Linked DNA regions of Homo sapiens: region 1 is linked to region 2. Evidence: promoter capture Hi-C in 16 types of primary human blood cells and fetal thymus (Javierre and others, 2016). All regions are on one chromosome and are shown on one strand. Each heading gives the region's core, a stretch centred on a gene start or on the middle of the fragment in contact. The rest is flanking DNA. Distances are from core to core; before and after follow the strand shown. Region 1 overlaps KRT40 (keratin 40). Region 2 holds the start of KRT38 (keratin 38).

Region 1 (6,001 bases), core at 3,291-5,790, 460 kb before region 2:
CCCCAGTGGTGAAGTTTGAGTGCCTTATTACAGCCTGGGAAGGATAGAAGTCTGGACTCCCCACCTGGCCTTTCCTTGTGTGGATATGGGTGGGTGAAATGATATTTTCTGTGGTGTTTGGCTGAGTTGAGTGGTTATTGTCTAAAGGTTTTCCGCCTTTCTAGGCTGCCTCTTTTCTGGTTCTTTAAGCAGAGCAAGCTCTTTCTGTTTGTTTGTTTGTTTGTTTTGTCTGCACCTGTTGGTGTTTCTGGTTGTTGGTTTCTCCAGCTCCCCCTCTGGGATATATGAGATAAAAAGCTAATCCAGGGAGCTCACCACAGTGTCACTCCTGGAGTCTCAACATCTTTAGGTGGTTTGGCTTCTTCTTCTACCTTTCAGAGTCCTCTTATGTTTATTTGATATGTAATTTCCAGGGTTTTTAGGAGGAGGAATATGGAAATATACATCATTCTGGAAGTTCTCTACCTTGTTTTTTAAATATATGAGAATAATTATTCTTATAACCTAAATGTCCAATAACAGATCAATGTACCTTATGGTACATTATGCAACCAGTAAAATGATGGCTACAGGCTGGGTGCAGTGGCTCACACCTGTAATCCCAGCACTTTGGGAGGCTGAAGCTGGTGGATCACAAGGTCAAGAGATTGAGACCATCCTGGCTAACACGGTGAAACCCTGTCTCTACTAAAAAAAAAAAAAAATTAGCCTGGTGTGGTGGCAGACACCTGTAGTCCCAGCTACTTGGGAGGCTGAGGCAGGAGAATCGCTTGAACCCAGGAGGCAGAGGTTGCAGTGAGCCCAGATAGTGTGACTACACTCCAGCCTGGGTGACACAGCAAGACTCTGTCTCAAAAAAAAAATAAAAAATAAAAAAAGTGATGGCTACAATACAATCTTATGTTTTTATTAGAATTAAAAATGCTTAGATGACATAAATGAAAGAAAGTTTACACAAGTGTGTGCATATGTTAGTATGATTATAGCTGTGTGGAAAAATCTATTATAAGAAAGAAAACTGGAAGAAAGTACCCCAAAATATTGACTATGGCTGTTTGGAAGATGAAATCATAAGTGACCTTTTCCCTTTTAATGAGCCAAATTTAAAAAAAGAGAATCTAGTACTTTTATAATCAAAAAATACATTTTATCATATTTTATTCCTAATATTTTTCCTCAGAAAGATACACACAACTATTTTCTAAGATATATGACATTTCTCATGGGTTCATTAATTTATTTGTATTTGAGGAGTTAAAAAATATTTTCAGCCTGGGTTTATGTACATTGAAACTATGGTTATGGGTTTAGATGATTTCCTTGCCATAAAATGAATATTCTATCAACAGTAATCAGCCATAGAGCTATATTTACCACGCTAAAGGAATAAAACACGTTTTATTTGGAGATGAGCAAGAATGCTTTATGGGCTTCCAGTATACCACAAATAAGCCGGAAGGAGAGGAAATAGTAAAGCAGAAAGACTGAGGATACCTGGAGGGCAATTCCAGGATATGAGAGCCTCCTGGATTTGTGCTTCCGGTTTGGATGTCCCTGGTTGAAGCCCCATCTCCTTTCTAGGATGCTGCTGGCTTTGATTCCTCTACCTGCTGTCCTTAACATTCACAAGCAGCAGTTTTCAACAGTGCAGATGACATAGGCTGAGCATGGCTCACAAGTGTTGCTCGAGGTGCATGTGGTCGAACATGGGCTACAGGAAAGCCTGGGGAAAAATCGATTTTCAACCAAGATTAACAAGGGAATGTTGATAAAATGGCAACTCAGAAAAACCGTGTCAAAATTTGCCCTACAAATTATGTTCTGAAAAAAACTCTGCACAATAGCATTGACTGAAGCCTGTTTCTTCTCTGCACCCAGAATTGCCACTTCATGTTCACTGTAGCAGTGGCAGTTGAATAGTATTTTATATTTTTTCTTGATTTTGCAAATGTTATCTTAGGCCTATTCCTGATTTTCCTTTAGTGGAAAACAGGAACAAAGGGAGATGCCAGCATGAAATGTTACACTAATAATTAATCTGCCTTTAGAATATTTTAAAAATATCTCTAGTGTCATGTTCTTAACCTCAGCCACTTTTCAGCACTTTTTTAAGAAGATCCCTAAACACACTGGGGAGGTCTGAACTTGTCCAGACTTTGGGGAAACAGGATTCTTTTACATCAGCCTCTTTGTGACTCTGGGGGATTTCATGAGTAACTGTGGAACTTGCCTGCTGTCCTCGCTGTCCAGCAGGCCCCAGTACGTGTTGATCTCACCCTCCAGCCGGGCCTTCACGTCCAGGAGCACCTGGTACTCCTGGTTCTGTCGCTCCAGGTCGCAGCGGATCTCGGCCAGCTGGTTCTCCAGGTTATCGATCAGACACTGAATTTGGGCCAGCTGGGAGCTGTACTGGGCCTCGGTTTCTGCCACGGTGCATTCCAGAGATTCTGTCTGCGGGAGGAAACATTGTCCAAAGGACCATGAAGTGCAGTCTCTCGGGCCAGAGTGCCTACTTTCAAATTCCTGCTTACCCTTTTCTAGCTATGTGACCACTGGCAAATTATTTAGCTTCTGTGAGTCTCAGTTTTATTCTCTGTATAGTGGAGAATACAAAGTATCTGTTTCATTAGACGGTTGTGAAGATTAAGAGTTAATATGCGGGCTGGGCGCGGTGGCTCAGGCCTGTAATCCCAGCACTTTGGGAGGCCGAGGCGGGCGGATCACAAGGTCAGAAGATCGAGACCATCCTGGCTAACACGGTGAAACCCCGTCTCTACTAAAAATATAAAAAATTAGCTGGGTACGGTGGTGGACGCCTGTAGTCCCAGCTACTCAGGAGAATGGTGTGAACCCGGGAGGCAAAGCTTGCAGTAAGTCAAGATCATGCCATTGCACTCCAGCCTGGGCGACAGAGGGAGACTCCGTCCAAAAAAAAAAAAAAAGAGTTAATGTGCGTAAAGCATTTAGAACAGTGCCAGCCATACTGCCACTGTTCTACGTGTCAACTATCACTACCACCACTATGACTACAGCAATACATGACATATTTGTGAAGCTTAAGGACTATCCACAACATATGAGAGGAAAGATTGAGTTTGGGCTCTTGGCAGGGAGGGGTAGTATAGTGCTATTAAGAGAAGAGGCTCTGGATACCAGAGGCTGGGACTGGCATATGTGTGGTAAGGGGATGAAGAGAGGTTGGTTAATGGGTGCAAACATACAGTTAGACAGAAAGAATATGTTTTCATGTTGGACAGCAGAGAAGTGTGACTACAGTTAACAACAATACACTGTGCATTTCAAAATAGCTAGATGGGAGGACTTGAAATGCTCCCAACACATAGAAATGATAAATACTTGAGGTGATGGATGCTCTAAATATCCTGACTTGATCATTACACATTCTATGCATGTAACAAAATATCACATCTACGTAAAAAAAATTTACGCATATTATATATCAATAAAAATAAATTTAAAAAGAGAGAGAGAAGAGACTCTGGGATTCAACTGGCTGAACTCAGCTTCCAAGTTTGCCTCTTAGAATTGCATCCTTTGCAAGTTACTTAATCTGAGTCTCAGTTTTCCTTATCTGTGTCATGGGATAAAGGTATCTATCCGGTAAAGTTACTGTGAGCCTTAAATCAGCATAGTGCCTCTCACAGGATGAATGCTCAGCTATTGTTCTTCTAGGTGTTCTCCGCAGGGCCTAATGACATGCACACAGTGGTGCTTGACCAGAACTGGTTCATGTCATCTTGAACGCATGGTGTTCCTGTTGCTTGAGTGGGGGGTGGTGCAGTGAAGGATAAGGTTGAAGTGTAGATCCTGGGAAACTGTAGGATGAAATGTTTGAAAATGATTCTTTGTTTTAGATATAACAGTGAGCCTGGAAAACTGGCCTGAATCAAATGAGAATTAAAACCTGCCAGAATGCTTAAGCGACCATGGCCCGGAGGTTTCTCTCCAGCTCTGCTTCTCCCTCCCTGTCTCTGGAGGCTGCTGCAGCATCAGACTCAAGCCCAGGAGTGAAGGTAAGGCATCTTAGAGGACAAGCTGTGGACCTGTCACTTCTGCTTCTATTAATAGCTGGGTAAACGGCAGTACTCGGGAAAGGCAAGGAAATGTGATCCTCGGATATGGAAGAGGGCTTAACATCTCAGGGCCTGACTTATCAGTGACACAACGGACACTGCCTTTGCCTCACGCACCAGGCTTTGCTGTGCTTGGAGCTCAATTTCCAGAGCACTGGCTGTGCGTTTCAGTTCCAAGATCTCCATCTGGCAGCCCTGCAGCTGCTCCGCGCTGGACAGTTGCTGCTGATTCAGCTCTTCTGTCTGAAACACAGACACCATTAGAGAATTCAAAAAAGGCAGAAGTCTGTAAGCCTGACATTTTTTCAATCTGGGTACTGACCTGAACAGCCAACCATTCTTCAGCTTCTCTGCGATTGTTGGCAAGCACCGTTTCACACTGACAGCGCATCTCATCCAGGACCCTGTTGAGGTCAAGGGTGGGGGCAGTGTCCAGCTCCACACTGAGGCGGTCGCCAAGCTGTTCACGAAGCAAGTTGACTTCCTGAAAGTGGGATGGTGTAAAGAATGTCACAGAATGGTGGGGAAAAATCCATTTGACATCCAATGGCATTCTACTTCTGTTTTTTGGAGCAGTGGGTAAAAGTGTGAGATTTTGATTCAGATTGCCTGGGCTGAATCTCTTTTCACCACTTAGAAGGGCCTCAGTTTCTTCGTCTGTAAAATGGACATAATAATTGGACATTTTTCCAGAAAGTTATTGTGAGATCTAGAAGAGTCAATCTACACATAATTAACTTATAAAAGTTAATTATGACACATAGTAAGGTGTCAATAAATGTTAGCTATGATTGTCATCAACAAACGTTCAAAGAGCAAATGTACTTTGTTACATCATTCAGCTTTTCATTTTCTAGCTTTATCAATATATCAGTGGCTGTATATTTTATGATTTTTAGAAGTTTATAAATGCGGAATATTTAAAAACACTGGTCCAGATAGTGCACAGTCTTTATCCCTTTTTTGAAATGGACTTCACAGTCTGTTCCTCAGCCTGATTTTCATACCCTGTGGACTGGAGCTAGGGGTGGCATAAAGCCTCCAAAGGAAGCCATTTGTGAAGTTACCTCCTCCACAAAGGCAAGGGCAGGAGAAGAGTTTGATTCCTTCCTCTGGCGCTGTCTAGGGGTTATTTCACACCTTAAATCAGAGACACACTGGAATGATCAGGTTGAATAGTAATAATGCCTCGAGTAGTTTTTGTTTGTTTGTTTGTTTGTTTGTTTTTTGAGATGGAGTCTCGCCCTGTCACCCAGGCTGGAGTGCAGTGGTAAGATCTCGGCTCACTGCAACCTCCGCCTCCTGAGTTCAAGTGATTCTCCTGCCTCAGCCTCCCGAGTAGCTAGGACTACAGGCGCCTGCCACCATGCCCAGCTAATTTTTGTATTTTTAGTAGAGATGAGGTTTCATCATATTGGTCAGGCTGGTCTCGAACTCCTGACCTTGTGATCCTCCTGCCTCAGCCTCCCAAAGTGCTTGGATTACAGGTGTGAGCCACCATGCCTGGCCCTGCCTCAAGTAGTTTTATTCCAGCTTAAACAACATCTGCCCAAATTCGATTTACAAACATCAACAGATCATCTGTCAATGTAAGTACGTTACTCTCGGAGTCCTTCAGCGGAGTTGCCACTTTCCTTACCTCTTCATGGTTTTTCTTAAGGCAAAGGAGATCTTCCTTCAGAGACTCCACATGGGCCTCCAGATCAGATTTGCACAGGGTCAGTTCCTCCAGGATCCCATGCAGGCTGCTGATGTCAGCCTCTAACAGCTGGCGAAGGGACAGTTCACTCTCGTACCTTTCACAGCAAAAGAGAAATCCAACGCTTACTTTGCTGAACGCTGTGCAAAGTGTGGGGATACATGGAGGATCGACACACGGACTTCAGGAAGCCATGTGCATAATTTCT
Region 2 (5,593 bases), core at 4-2,503:
TTATCCCTTGCTTTCAGCTGTCTTCCCCTCTCTCATTTTTGCCTAGGTACCTTATACCTGGTACCTTAGGGCTCCCTAATTAAATCTGGACAAAGACTCATCTGTAAGTGACTCCTCTGACTTATATATGAAACCCAATGGCTGTCTTGCTCAGTTCATCCTTCAAATCACCTCATTTTGCTCCTGGTTAATGAACTCAGGCTGCCTTATCCTCCATTTTAGGGAAATAAATGAAGGAAGACAAACATATATGCTTGGATTAATGAGGAGTTTTCCCTTCCATCTTCCATCAGCTTCGATTGTAATGAAAATTTTACTGTAGAGAATCTAGCAAGGAAGAAATGACAATGATTCCCTCACTCAACAAGTATTTGGGCATTGGGATGGAGGGTGGGGAAGGAGTCACCCTGGCCCTCCTCCGCCTGACTTACTTGATCCTAAAGTCATCGGCAGCCAGCTTGGCATTGTCAATTTGTACAATCAGCCTGGCATTCTCGGCCTTGCTGCACAGGATCTGAGGAGAACAGGAAGACAGTTCACACACAAAGCATCATGCCCTAGGCTCCTTCTCCACGTGTGGTGTCTATGATCATGTCCAAGAGAAACCAAGAACCCAAAGTTCTCTGAGCTTTACATGGATTCCTCCTGTCTTGCCTCTGCCATCTCAGACCCAGCACACCCAAGCGATCCCACACCTCACCTTCTGTTGGAGCTCCTCGATGGTGTGGAAGTAAGACTGGTAGTCGGGGCACACGGTGGACTCGTGGCACTTGCTCCTCTCGAGGAGTGTGGCCTCCAGCTCCGCATTCTCCTGCTCCAGCTGGCGCACCTTCTCCAGGTAGTTGGCCAGGCGGTCATTCAGGAACTGCATGGTCTCCTTCTCATGGCCATTCAGGGTGTTTTCACCATAGGCCCCACAGATTCCAATGTTGCCAGGAATGTGGCAGGTCCCTGGCAAGGGACAAGCAGTGTGGCAGGTAGGCGGCAGACAGAGGCTGGGGCGGCCCAGGGGAGTGGACCCCACACGGACTCGGTTGGCATGTGCCACGTTGGCCAAAAGGCACATGGGGGCAATGTTGGCCTCTGCCCCAGGCTGGCACCCAATGTCGATGGGAGAGACAGAGACATTTCTTGCTCCAGGAGCCATGGTGCAACCCAGAGGGCATGAGGAGCTGCTGTAGGAAGAGGTCATGGTGTTGGGCTGAGGCTGCACAGGAGCTTCAGATCAGCTGGGAAAGCTGAACCACTGAGACTGAAGCCTCCTCTCCTCCCAGCCCTTTTATACCCCATCCTGGGCGGGTGTTGGCTCCAATGCTTTGACCTCCTGCCTTGATTATCTACCTGTTGTGGTGCCATCATCCTGTTACTCAGCTGCTGAGTTTACCATGAAAAGTTTCTCAGCTCGTTAAAGGAATGTTGACGAATCTGAGGCCTCTTGGCTCTTTGAAATCAGGTTGGCTGTTGATGGGAGGTCAGAAGCTTTTTATTATCTTTCAAAGAAGCAAAGTTATAGCCATCAGATGCTTAGACCTTGACTGGGTTTGGCCTCTTTATGGATGTGTCCACTCTGGAGACACAAACTTTCCTGTTGGTCAGTGGTGTAGCAGGAGGACTAACCCCGGTGATGACAATGGTTCTCACTTGGGTTAAGACTCAACCAGCCTTCCCTATCCAGGGAAGAAACTGAGTCTTGGAATTGGTGGATGTTATGGCCTTGGGTTATCAAGAAGTCCTACATTTCTTCTTTCTTTAGTTGGTTGCCTTTCAGACTCACTTTGAGGAGCAACAAGACTTAGATGAATCCAGTCACTCAAAACACATCCCCTGGCTACGTCCCATATGCTACGCACCTTGCTGATGCTTGATATATAGTTGGTTAAGCACAAAATAGTTCCTGCCATTGGGGAACAACTGTAACTTGGGTAGACGTGATGTTTCAAACAAGGTATCTGAGAAGCTCATGAAAATGAGGATGACTCCAAAAACCATGGCTTATCTCGACCAAGAAGGGCAAGCTCAAGAAGCCAGAAATAAACAAAGAGAAATGAGCAATAATCTTACTGAACCTCAAATAAGAACTTGGTCATGAAAGTCAAAGGACATTGAGTGATCAGAGCCTCTGTGGGCTCTCTTCATACCTTGCTTCCTTTATTCTAAAGTCAGTCATGAGCCTTCACCCTATGAGCTAGGGGATTGAGCAATGATACCTTTTAATCTTTACTTCCAACCTGGGAGGTGGGTACTCTTAATTTTACAAAATAAATAAACAAGCCATTGAGGACAGTTTTCTAAGATCAACCTCACTATAAAGTATAAAGCCTATTCTCAACATCAGCTTCTTTCAACTCCAGAAACTGTTTCTTCACCTTGACCACCTCCAAATCCTCCACCCCAAGGATAACTACTGTGTCATTGCTAGAACTAAGAAGGATTCAAATTCCTAGAAACCGGGCAAGAAGTTGAAATTAAGATGTAAAACAAAAATCTGACATTGTGTATTTTTCCCTTTGTATCTCAGAAAATACAGATGTGGAGGTATTCATACAATAAAACAGAGTTTCTCCAAGGGCTAAATCAGAAGATGCCAGGGGAAAGTCCTGTCCCTAAAATGGTTATATTACACATTCCACATTCAGATAGTTCTTGGTACTAGGGATCCAAGACACATGGCTGCTGAGATCCCAAAACTTTTCTCCCAAAATTTGTGACAGAAGATACATAGACCCCTGAGACTAAGAAAAACCTAATGTGGAACAATCCAAAGTGATTATAACTAGAATTTTGGGAAAATGAGTTTTTGCCAGTCCCCTGAGCATTGAACAAAAGCTGAACATACACCTCTATAGGGATCAGACGTGCATATGTGAAACACAGGCTATTGGAGTTCTATCAAGAAGAAATACAGAATCTGAGAATTCAGTCCAGATTGGGCTTCTCAGGAAAGTAAGTAGTAGTGAGCGCTGACCTAAGGGTTATTCAGAGCTCACCAATCCATAACCCTTTACAGACAACATCATTGGGAGACATCACCAGGGCAGGCTGTCCCATCCTCCAGAGGCCACTGGGTGCAATCTGCATATGTTACATCTTCAAACACCCTTTTGTTACTCTCCTCCGCCTCATCACATAGCAACAAGCTTCTCTATAAATCAGAGAGCCAGGCTTTTAAAGTCATTTCCTTTGATTTGCTAAGTAGCACCCATCTTTTGGCTTTATCCTCTGCCCAGATTCATTCCATGGACTAAAAGCCACGATTTCGTCCATTCACAATACATGACTCATCACTGCTGAAGCCTTGTGTGTCCAGATGACACCCCTCTCTGCCAACTGGCTTGGGTCCTGGCTTGGGCTTCTACCTTGTACTGTTTTGCATAATGATACTGATGTTGCATGGCTCTTTGTAAAATCGCTTTGTTCCCCTGATTTGTATTTTCTCAAAGGAGGTGAAGGAGCGGGTGGGGATCCTAAGACTCTCTTCCTTCCCAACCCTTTAAAAAGAGTCCCTGTGGCCCCTGGTGACCGAATATGAGGCCAGGTTCAGTAACAAGAAGTGATGAATACAGAGTGTGAGAGATGGGAGCCTGCTGCCCTCCTTCATTCACCTGTGTGCACAACATTCTCTGTGTGGATTCTGACTTTAGACATGCCGATCTCTAGAGGCATGAAGTCTACTGCAAATGGAGGTGAGGAGCTGTGGTCTTGGAATGCCATTTTCACTAATTTTGATACATAGGGGCATATCTCAACCAATGGGAGAGAAAGGTATGGAGCTGTAGGCTAGCACCTGGAGATTGTGCCTAACTCAAAGTTTATCTTTTCTGTGTCATGGCTCCTACTGCTGGAAGATGCAGGGAGGCATCTAGGGAGTTGTGCCCTGTGTGGGAACGTCACCCATCACACATTGCAGTGAATGCAAAGATTTATGACAAGTACTATATGTAGAGTTAGTGCTGCCACATCTCCAGGGTGTTAGAAAATGGTGTCCCAAACAATCCTAGATCAAGAAACCATGAAGACTCTTGAGAGAAGAGGCTGAGCATATAAATGTATTATTCTAGGTATCCAACTCCTGAGGCTTTGATGAATGGAAAAGGTACACTTCTGTTCAAATTAAATATGATTTTATCTATATATGAATGTATGCTCATTTGTGATTAAGAAATACAAACTAAAGAGATATTGTTTTCTTATCAGGTTTTGCTAAGTTGGATAATAGCACACAGTGTTGGCATGAGTGTGGGAAACAAGTCCTATCCTCTCCTGTGGATGACAGTCACGAGCTTCCACCTCTGCACATAGGCACAGAAACCGGGGCCCGTGCGTTGGGACCTGTGAGCCTCACACCTGCCTCTGATGGCATCATTTGCTGCTCCAGGCTTCACTGCAATCGACCCACTTGGAGAGTAGCTCAGGAGGCTCACCCTGCCCTGGCAAGCAATAGTGAGGGAAGAGACTCCAGAAGATGAATTAGAAAGAGTTGGAAAATCTTTGAGAAGCAAGACCCTAAGAAGGGAAGAAAATATAGAATTCTGTTTCAACCAGAATAAAAACAGATCTTTGGCACAGGTCAAAGATCCTCATTGTGGAAAATATTGAACTGCTTTCTGTTGCTCATTACAAACCCATGATTATGAAACATGCTGAGTCTGAAACAGCTCAGTGGCCGTTCTCTGTCACAGATAGATTGAGCTGTGTGGGCTCACTCATGCTCTCTGCAAAGCCTTCTCTGGCTTCCCAGGTAGGCTGCTCTCCCTCTGCTGACACACTCTTCTCACCCTGGGAAACTGTGGCTGTATCAGAGGTGGTAGCTCCCCACCATGGACTTGGGATCTCCAGGACATCAGGGAGTTTGTCTCATTGCTTTTTCCTCTTTCATCTCCATATCCCCAGACTCTGGCACAGAGCCCGGCTACAGAGTAGGTTCTGCATCCATGTGTGTTTAATTATGTAAGCAGGTAATGAGAAACACAGTAGCACCAAGCAAAGATATTTGTATGCTGAAACAATGAAGTAAAATCATAGATTCTTAAGCAATGTGGATAAATACACAACCAGAGATATGCCGGCAAATTAGCTCTCTGGGGGGAAAACCCCTCCAGTTTGTAGTGTAAGCCAATTTCTGTGGTGTAAATACTCCCACAATAGCCAACTTCAAGCAAACAATATGATGTCACTGAATGTGGAGTTGGAAAGAGATGTGAAAAATCGGCTCTTGTGAGTTATAAGAGTTAGCTCCAGCGTACCACTTGATCCCACTTTCTAAAACCAAAATCCTGACAGTACATTTCTTACATAGTAATTTTTTTTATAAATCCTACAGAGAAACCAAAGGTAGATCACATTTGATGACACAGGCAAGAGACCTGCCCCTAGAGAAGAGGAAGGCATTATGGCCATGGTGCCACCCACAACTGCTTCATCTTCTCACCAGTCACTGAGATGCTGTGGTTCCCCCCAGGGCCCCACGGTCCCAGCTGCGAACTCAGGCAGCCTCTGGAAAGGGCAGAACCAGCTAGTTTGATTGCACATCACTGGGAACAACCCTTCTCTGCTGATGCAGGATGCTTCTCTCAAGTCACCTTCAAGTCTTTCT

The links. Contacts are between HindIII fragments. The CHiCAGO score rates a contact against its expected background, and 5 or more counts as called.
Region 1: a contact is called between a fragment that was not itself captured here and the fragment with the promoter of KRT38 in region 2, in 5 of 17 cell types (naive CD8 T cells, activated CD4 T cells, naive CD4 T cells and 2 more). The highest score is 6.6, in naive CD8 T cells.

The regions. Positions count from the first base shown.
Region 1 is chr17:40,976,574-40,982,574 of GRCh38, forward strand. It overlaps KRT40 (keratin 40), which reads right to left. Exons shown (of 7, transcript NM_001389244.1): 3 at 5,734-5,890; 4 at 4,417-4,578; 5 at 4,212-4,337; 6 at 2,231-2,451; 7 at 1,142-1,723. The coding sequence ends at 1,624. It overlaps LOC107985072 (a long non-coding RNA gene), which reads left to right. Exons shown (of 4, transcript XR_001752886.2): 3 at 3,876-4,034; 4 at 5,755-6,001. Among named protein-coding and RNA genes, the nearest start is that of KRT40, 4.8 kb to the right of the region's middle. RefSeq lists an enhancer at 3,433-4,034. The HindIII fragment of the contact is 2,975 bases long and covers 3,054-6,001 here.
Region 2 is chr17:41,439,730-41,445,322 of GRCh38, forward strand. KRT38 (keratin 38) reads right to left here and starts at 1,254. Exons shown (of 7, transcript NM_006771.4): 1 at 701-1,254; 2 at 432-514. The coding sequence starts at 1,192. RefSeq lists an enhancer at 910-1,410. The HindIII fragment of the contact is 7,679 bases long and covers 1-1,477 here.